2 separate regions of the Homo sapiens genome follow, and region 2 is linked to region 1. The links are contacts of gene promoters, found by promoter capture Hi-C in blood cells and fetal thymus (Javierre and others, 2016). All regions are on one chromosome and are shown on one strand. Each heading gives the region's core, a stretch centred on a gene start or on the middle of the fragment in contact. The rest is flanking DNA. Distances are from core to core; before and after follow the strand shown. Region 1 overlaps CES3 (carboxylesterase 3). Region 2 holds the start of TPPP3 (tubulin polymerization promoting protein family member 3).

Evidence for each region. The method cuts DNA at HindIII sites, captures the fragments that hold promoters and counts their contacts. A CHiCAGO score of 5 or more calls a contact.
Region 2: the fragment with the promoter of TPPP3 here is called in contact with a fragment that was not itself captured in region 1 in 3 of 17 cell types (naive B cells, total CD8 T cells and M1 macrophages); the score reaches 5.8 in naive B cells.

Annotation. Positions count from the first base shown.
Region 1 is chr16:66,963,393-66,966,485 of GRCh38, reverse strand. CES3 (carboxylesterase 3) reads right to left here. Exons shown (of 13, transcript NM_024922.6): 3 at 2,857-2,995; 4 at 2,551-2,684; 5 at 1,976-2,129; 6 at 1,759-1,863; 7 at 141-242. Among named protein-coding and RNA genes, the nearest start is that of CES3, 3.7 kb to the right of the region's middle. RefSeq lists an enhancer at 1,831-2,748. The HindIII fragment of the contact is 7,346 bases long and covers 1-3,093 here.
Region 2 is chr16:67,391,929-67,395,021 of GRCh38, reverse strand. TPPP3 (tubulin polymerization promoting protein family member 3) reads left to right here and starts at 1,524. Exons shown (of 4, transcript NM_015964.4): 1 at 1,524-1,642. ZDHHC1 (zDHHC palmitoyltransferase 1) reads left to right here. Exons shown (of 12, transcript NM_001323627.2): 11 at 1-20; 12 at 129-870. The coding sequence ends at 412. The HindIII fragment of the contact is 5,780 bases long and covers 1-3,093 here.

The DNA of each region.
Region 1 (3,093 bases), core at 284-2,783:
CCAAGCCCTCAGCCCCTTCCCCTCATGAGCTGCTGTCCCCAGCCCCACCTGGGGGTAGACTGCCCCTCTGCTCCTGCAGGGGATGGATAGAACCCCCTCTGTGCCATTGCCCGGCACCATCCCCAAAAGGGTGGCCATACCAGCTTCTTGCTAAGGACCAGCTCTTCTCCTTCTTTCTGCTGAAGGCACTGCACCATCTCAGCCGGGGAGCTGGAGCTGCAGGCCAAGGTGTTTGCGATTTTCTGGGGACAAATGAAAGAGTCATGCCTCCCTCTCAGCCACTCAGCCCCACCTTGCAGCCTTCTGCCTCCCACAGAGAGGGTGCATCTGTAGGACAGCTGGATGTGATGTCACAGATCGGCCTCGAGACTGGTCACAGACTTGTCACCACTCCTGAGAAGCCTGCCCTGCCCGTCAGCTTGGGTGGTCCCAAGGGCCCCCTTGCGTCCCCTATTATACCATAATTTTATTATCTGGGGGAATGGGGGCACTGAGTCCTCATTGCCCTCTAAGAATAGTGTCATTATCTTTTATTATTATTTTTTTGAGACAGACTCTCGCTCTGTCGCCCAGGCTGGAGTGCAGTGGCATGATCTTGGCTCACCGCAAGCTCTGCGTCCCGGGTTCACACCATTCTTCTGCCTCAGCCTCCTGAGTAGCTGGGACTACAGGCACCTGCCACCATGCCCGGCTAATTTTTTGTATTTTTAGTAGAGATGGGGTTTCACCATGTTAGCCAGGATCACCTTGATCTCCTGACTTTGTGATCCGCCAACCTCAGCCTTGAGCTGTGTTTTTCTTTGGACACAGGAGAGACAGGGAATGACCTCAAGTCTGTGGTTGAGAAAATCTCTCCTGGCCATGGGGAGAGGATGGGATGGGGAGGTTGAGAGGAGGATGCTGTTGTCCATACAAGAGTCAACATGCCCACGCAGAGGTTCCAGAATCATCTTGTACACAGTGGTTAAAATGCCCAGCCCACACTGCCTTGGCCACCATCTGGGGCCAGGTGAGGGAATTGACCCAGTCTTCCAAATCCTGCTCACATTTGCCCCCTCTCTCCCCGATGGCTCTATCCCTATTCCATCCTGTCTCTTTCTCCTGGACTCTGCCCTGGTCATTTCACTGGTGTCTTGATCTTCAGGACGGCTCCCTCCAACCCACCTTCTACTCCAGGTAGCTCAACCTTGTCATTGCCCAACTTCTTCCTGCCCTCTGGAGAAAGTCCAGATTCCCAGGCATGGCCCCCACTTCTCCAGCACCTTCACTTCCTGCCCTGTTCCCTAACCTGCGAGCTTGCTCCTGCAGGACCTGTCACTCTCTCCCACACCTGCAGCCTTTGCAGATGCAGTTCCCACTGTGGCTTCCCCTGGATTTTCTTCACAAGGCCTTACAATGAGGATCTAGGGTGGGGATCTGGAGCCTGAATGGAGAGCTCGCAGGCAGCAGGTGGCTGGCAATGGAGACCCCCTCCACCATGCTGCCTGGGGCAGAGAGGGGTGCTCCTGAAGACCCCACCCTGGAGAAAGGGCCAACAATGATATGCTTCAGGGTGGCTTCCTTCAGGAAGCCCTCCCTGAGTGCCAATATGCTGGAATGCAGCAGTTGTTTCCTCTGATGCTCCTTCGTCTTATTGGGCTTCTCTTTGCTAACAGGGAGCTCCCTGCCAGCAAACCCCGCTACTCTGAGACCCCAGGGCCAGCACAGAGTGGGGTATGGGAGGCACACATAGAGTAAGAGAGGGAAGGAAATACAGACCTGAGCTAGGGGCCAAGGGTGAGAGTCGATGATCCCTGGGGTGGTGATGACCCCACTCTGTGTGATGGCTCTGTGGAACAGCCCTGCAGCCACTGGGGACAGGACCTGGGTGCATTGGAGAGAGGAGGTGGCTGTCAGAGGAGGGCAGAGGAGCTGGGAGTTCTGAGACCACCGGAGCCCTCCTGGCCACCATCACTAGCCCCCTATAGTGACTTACCAGGCCAGAGATGATGCTCCCACCGGCAGATCCACCAAAGACAGTGACACAGTTGAGGTCACCCCCGAAGGGGGCGATGTTTTCTTGCACCCAGCGCAAAGCAGCTACCACATCTAGGAAGCCCTGGTTGCCAGGTGCATGCTCATCTCCAGTGCTGGGGGCAGTGTTGGGGCAACGGTTAGTTCAGCCTGGCTCCTCGCCAGCCTCTGCAGGTTTGCTTTGAATTAGCCACCAGGATGCCAGACCCTTCTCTGCTCCCCAGGTCTGGCCTGTCTGGGAGCCGTGGTTGGCATCTCCACAGCCTGTTGCTCTTTGTCCCATATCCTGCTGGAACCTGGGCTTCAGCCCAGGAATCAATGCCCTCTGCCCAAGGGACCAAGTTCACTGTATAATTCTGGCTTTGGCTGGACCCCTCTCCCAGGGTGGAGGCTTGGGGGGTGCCCTTCTCTGCCTCAGACATCATGGGTAAGGGGCCCTCCCTTCAGGTTCCGGACCCCAACCTAGATCCCCAGTTGCTCTGGTGAGCTGGCCTCTCCCCGGTGCAGGCAGTGCTCTGGCCATGCCTGTCGTCTCACCTGAAGAAGCCAAGGACCCCAAGGCGGTACTGGACTGTAACCACGACCACATCCCCATAGGCAGCCAGAGCTGATCCATCGTAGGAGGTGGCAGCGCCAGTTATCAGAGCGCCTCCATGGACCCATACCATGACCTGCAGAGGTGGCCATGGGGCACTGACCCCCAAGCTCCTGAGACCTTAGCTGCCCACCTGCCAGCCCAGGCAGTCTCAGGACCGCTAGGGTGCTTTGGAAACAGGGACGGGGAGGGGACAGGTAGGCATAGTGGAGCTGGATCAGGTGGACAGGGCCCTCTGGGGTGCCTACCGGCCTACCGGACCCTGCGGGGACCTCAGCTGGGCTATAGACGTTGAGGACCAGGCAGTCCTCTGAAACGGAGAAGATCTGCTGTTTTCCGTTGAGGACAAATCTGCTGCTGTTCATGCTCTCCACGTCTTGTAGGCACCTGTGGCCAAGGGTGGGCCTGAGGTCCAGCTGTTCAGCCCCACAAGCCCCAGCAGCAGGATTCTCCTGCAACCTGCCTGTTTGCCCGCCTCCACCAGC
Region 2 (3,093 bases), core at 275-2,774, 430 kb before region 1:
GACCTCGGATCCGGCGTCGGGTGAGCGCCTCTCCCTGTCCGGGTCCTGCTCTGGGAACTCGAGGGAGGGGAAGGCAGAGCCACAAGCGAGCCGCAGCCACTGGGCTCATGTTCCCTTCCCTTGCGCAGGGCCTAGGGCCCCCAGCCGCCGCTCCAGCTCGTCGACGGATTCCGCGGACGCCAGCCCTGTGCACGCCGCTGGCCCTGCCGGCGCCTACCACTCGGCGTCGGCAGAGTCCGTGGACGAGATTCCAGTGGCGCAGACGCGCCTGGGCAGCGCCGCTCTGGCCGCCCCGCGGGGCCGGGGCCGACAGCCCACGCTGGCGCGGCAGGCGCGTGCGCCCGCCGTTTTCGTGAGCCCGAGCAGCGGCGAGCCCAGGGCGCCGGGCGGCCGGGAGGCTGGTCTGGCTTAGCTGGGCCGAGAGGCCGGAGGGCCGAGTTAGAGCGGCCGGCCTGACTCTCTATGCAACACCCCATCCTTGCCGCACCGAGTGCACTTTAGGGGCCCCTACGGCCGGCGGGATCGGCCTCCCTCCCCCACGACTCAGCAATACCCGCCCCACCGGCTGTGATGCTCCAATAAACTTTTTTATGCTTTTGCGGACGTCGCGCTTACTTTCTTAATGGCAGGGGCCACGGGCCATCCAGAAGCCCGACCCTGGCCAGTGGACCGGGGGCGGGGAGGAGGTCCCTGTATAGTAGGTAGCCACCCAGGCTGCCCTGTGGAGGTGCTCACGTGCGGCTCGTGGTTAGGAAAGGCCTTAGAAGGCGGCCTGGAGGAGGTTATTTTTCTTAAAGATGGGCTTTGCACTGGGAGGCCGAGAGAAAGCAGGCTTTGGGCTCCGAAAGCAGCAGTGGGCGCTGAGGCTGCGAGGCCGTGGGGAGGTGGCGGCGAAAGGAGGGGGCCGAGCCAGGAGGTCCCGCAGCTTTTCCCCGGCAGCAGGGCTGCCGTCGAATGCCAGCATCCTGGGGCTGGGCGAGCGCGATTCGCTCGTAGGGAGTCCCCTCCCTTCTTCCCCACTGCTCCAGGCTCTGAATCCTACCCAAGAGAGCACGGGAGTTGTGGCCTGGGGGTGCCATCCGTTCAGTGGATGGCAGTGCTCTTGAGTCAACCGTATACCCCTGTCACTGAGGGAGAGCTCCTTCCCGATTCCCCAAGCCCCACCAATGCCCCGCGCAGCTCCCCAGTGGCCTCTGGTTGACTCTCTGGGGAGCTGGATCTCTTCTGGAGATTGGGGCCGCTTAGAGCTTTAGGCACATCCCAGGATGGGAGGCTGTTTCCTCAGGGGGCCGTCCGAAGACGCCCCGAACTGCAGAGCGCTGGTCTCGCCGTCGCGAGGACCGCGGAGTTGCGGGGGAGGGGCGGGATGCGGCTCCCGGAGAGTCTCGGGGAGGGCGGGGCCTCGTGGGCGGGGCCGGCGTGACCTTGGTCACTCTCCCGCCGAGACAGCCTCGGGGGTGGGACTCGCCGTCTCTATGGAGACCGAGAAACAGGGGATAATACGGCGGAGCCGCCTGGGCTGCAGTCCCACCCGGGAGCCGGCAGGGAGCGGAGCTGCGGAGCCGCCTGGTCTCCCGCGTCCATCGGTCCATTCCTGCGTCGTTCTGTCCTTCCGAACGCACACTTCAGGAGCAGCCGCGAGGTAGAAGCCCATAGGAGACCCAGATGCCCGCCACCCCAATCAGTATCCTGCACGATGAGGGTTGGGGGGAGCAGCCTGGAAAGGGTCCCAACCTCCGGCGGTCCCAGCCGAGGAGCCAGCTGAGCGGCCCTGCCCTGGCCCCAAGCATTCCACCTCGCAGCCCCCACCTCCTGGTCCGGCTGATTGATGACTCCAGCTGTCCCAGTGGGAGCGGGACGGGTGGCTCCAGTTCACGGGTGTGGCCACTCCATCCATGGCCTGCAGACCCATGGGGCTGCGGCCTGCAACCCAGCGCCACCTGACCGCGCTGAGATGACCAAGAATCCATCTTTCCACGGACAGGAGTGAGCACTGCACGCAGGATCCGCCCAGTGCTTGGGCCAAGCACCCTGTGGCATCCAAGCTCCCCTGGACGTTACCCTTGGTGAACCAAGTGCGGGTCTTGGGGTCCCTGGTGGGAGGTTGCACCCAGGGAAAGGGAAGGGGAGTGCAGCGTGGACTGGGGTTATGGTCCCTGTAACGTAGGAACCACCGGTGCTCACAGTCCCAGAAACTGCCACTTAGGGATGGGAGTGTGGTCACTGGCGAGGAGTTTTTGGTGGAAGATGGGGCAGCCGGGCAGAGCCCAGGCCGTGGTCACTGGAAGCCCTAGTGTAAAAGGCAGAGCTAGAAGATGGTTGCTGAGACCGAGGGTGTGGTCAGGAGGTGGCAGTGGAGGAGGGGGATGTGGTGGGGAGGTCTCTACGCAGGGGATCTCCGCATAGTACCTGGGAGTCTTATAATGTTAGTGTGTGGATGTGGACTGGGGCCTTCAGTGCAGGCTGAGGGTGTGGCCAGAGGGCTGAGGGTGTGTGGACAAAGGGGTGCTGAGGGTCAGGGCGCCTTGATAAAGGGCTGCGGGTATTGGAGGGGGTGAGTGGCTGAGGCTATGGTCAGGGGTCTCAGGAAGGGATGCAGGTTTGTGGCCAGGGGCCTCAGCCCCAGGGCTGCGGGTGTGGGGATGGAGAAGGCTGCTGTGTAGGCTCAGGGTGTGGCCAGGGGTCTGCAGCGGAGGGCTGTGGGTGTGGGGGGCACTTTAGTGCTGGACTGTGGGTATTACTGGGGTTGGCGCAGGCTTGTTAGTATATATGTGGGGGCTGGTGGCCGAGGGCTGTGGCTGTGGGTGTGAAGATGGAGGATGGAGGGCTGAAGGTATGGCCAGGGGTACAAGGCCCAGGGGGTGGCAGGCCAGGGCTGAGTGCACAGGGTCGCTGGGAATGTGGGCTGGTGTGGCCAAGTTCAGGGCGTGGCCAGGGGAGGTCTGAGGTGTAGACATGATGAAGTGTGTTTCAGCCACAGCCCCACTTGCCAGCACGACTCTTGGGGTTCGTAACTCTACAGCCCCCACGCTACTAGCCCCCAACCTCCTGCTCCCCCAAAACTCCACAGTGGGAGGTTACAGCACCAGTCGG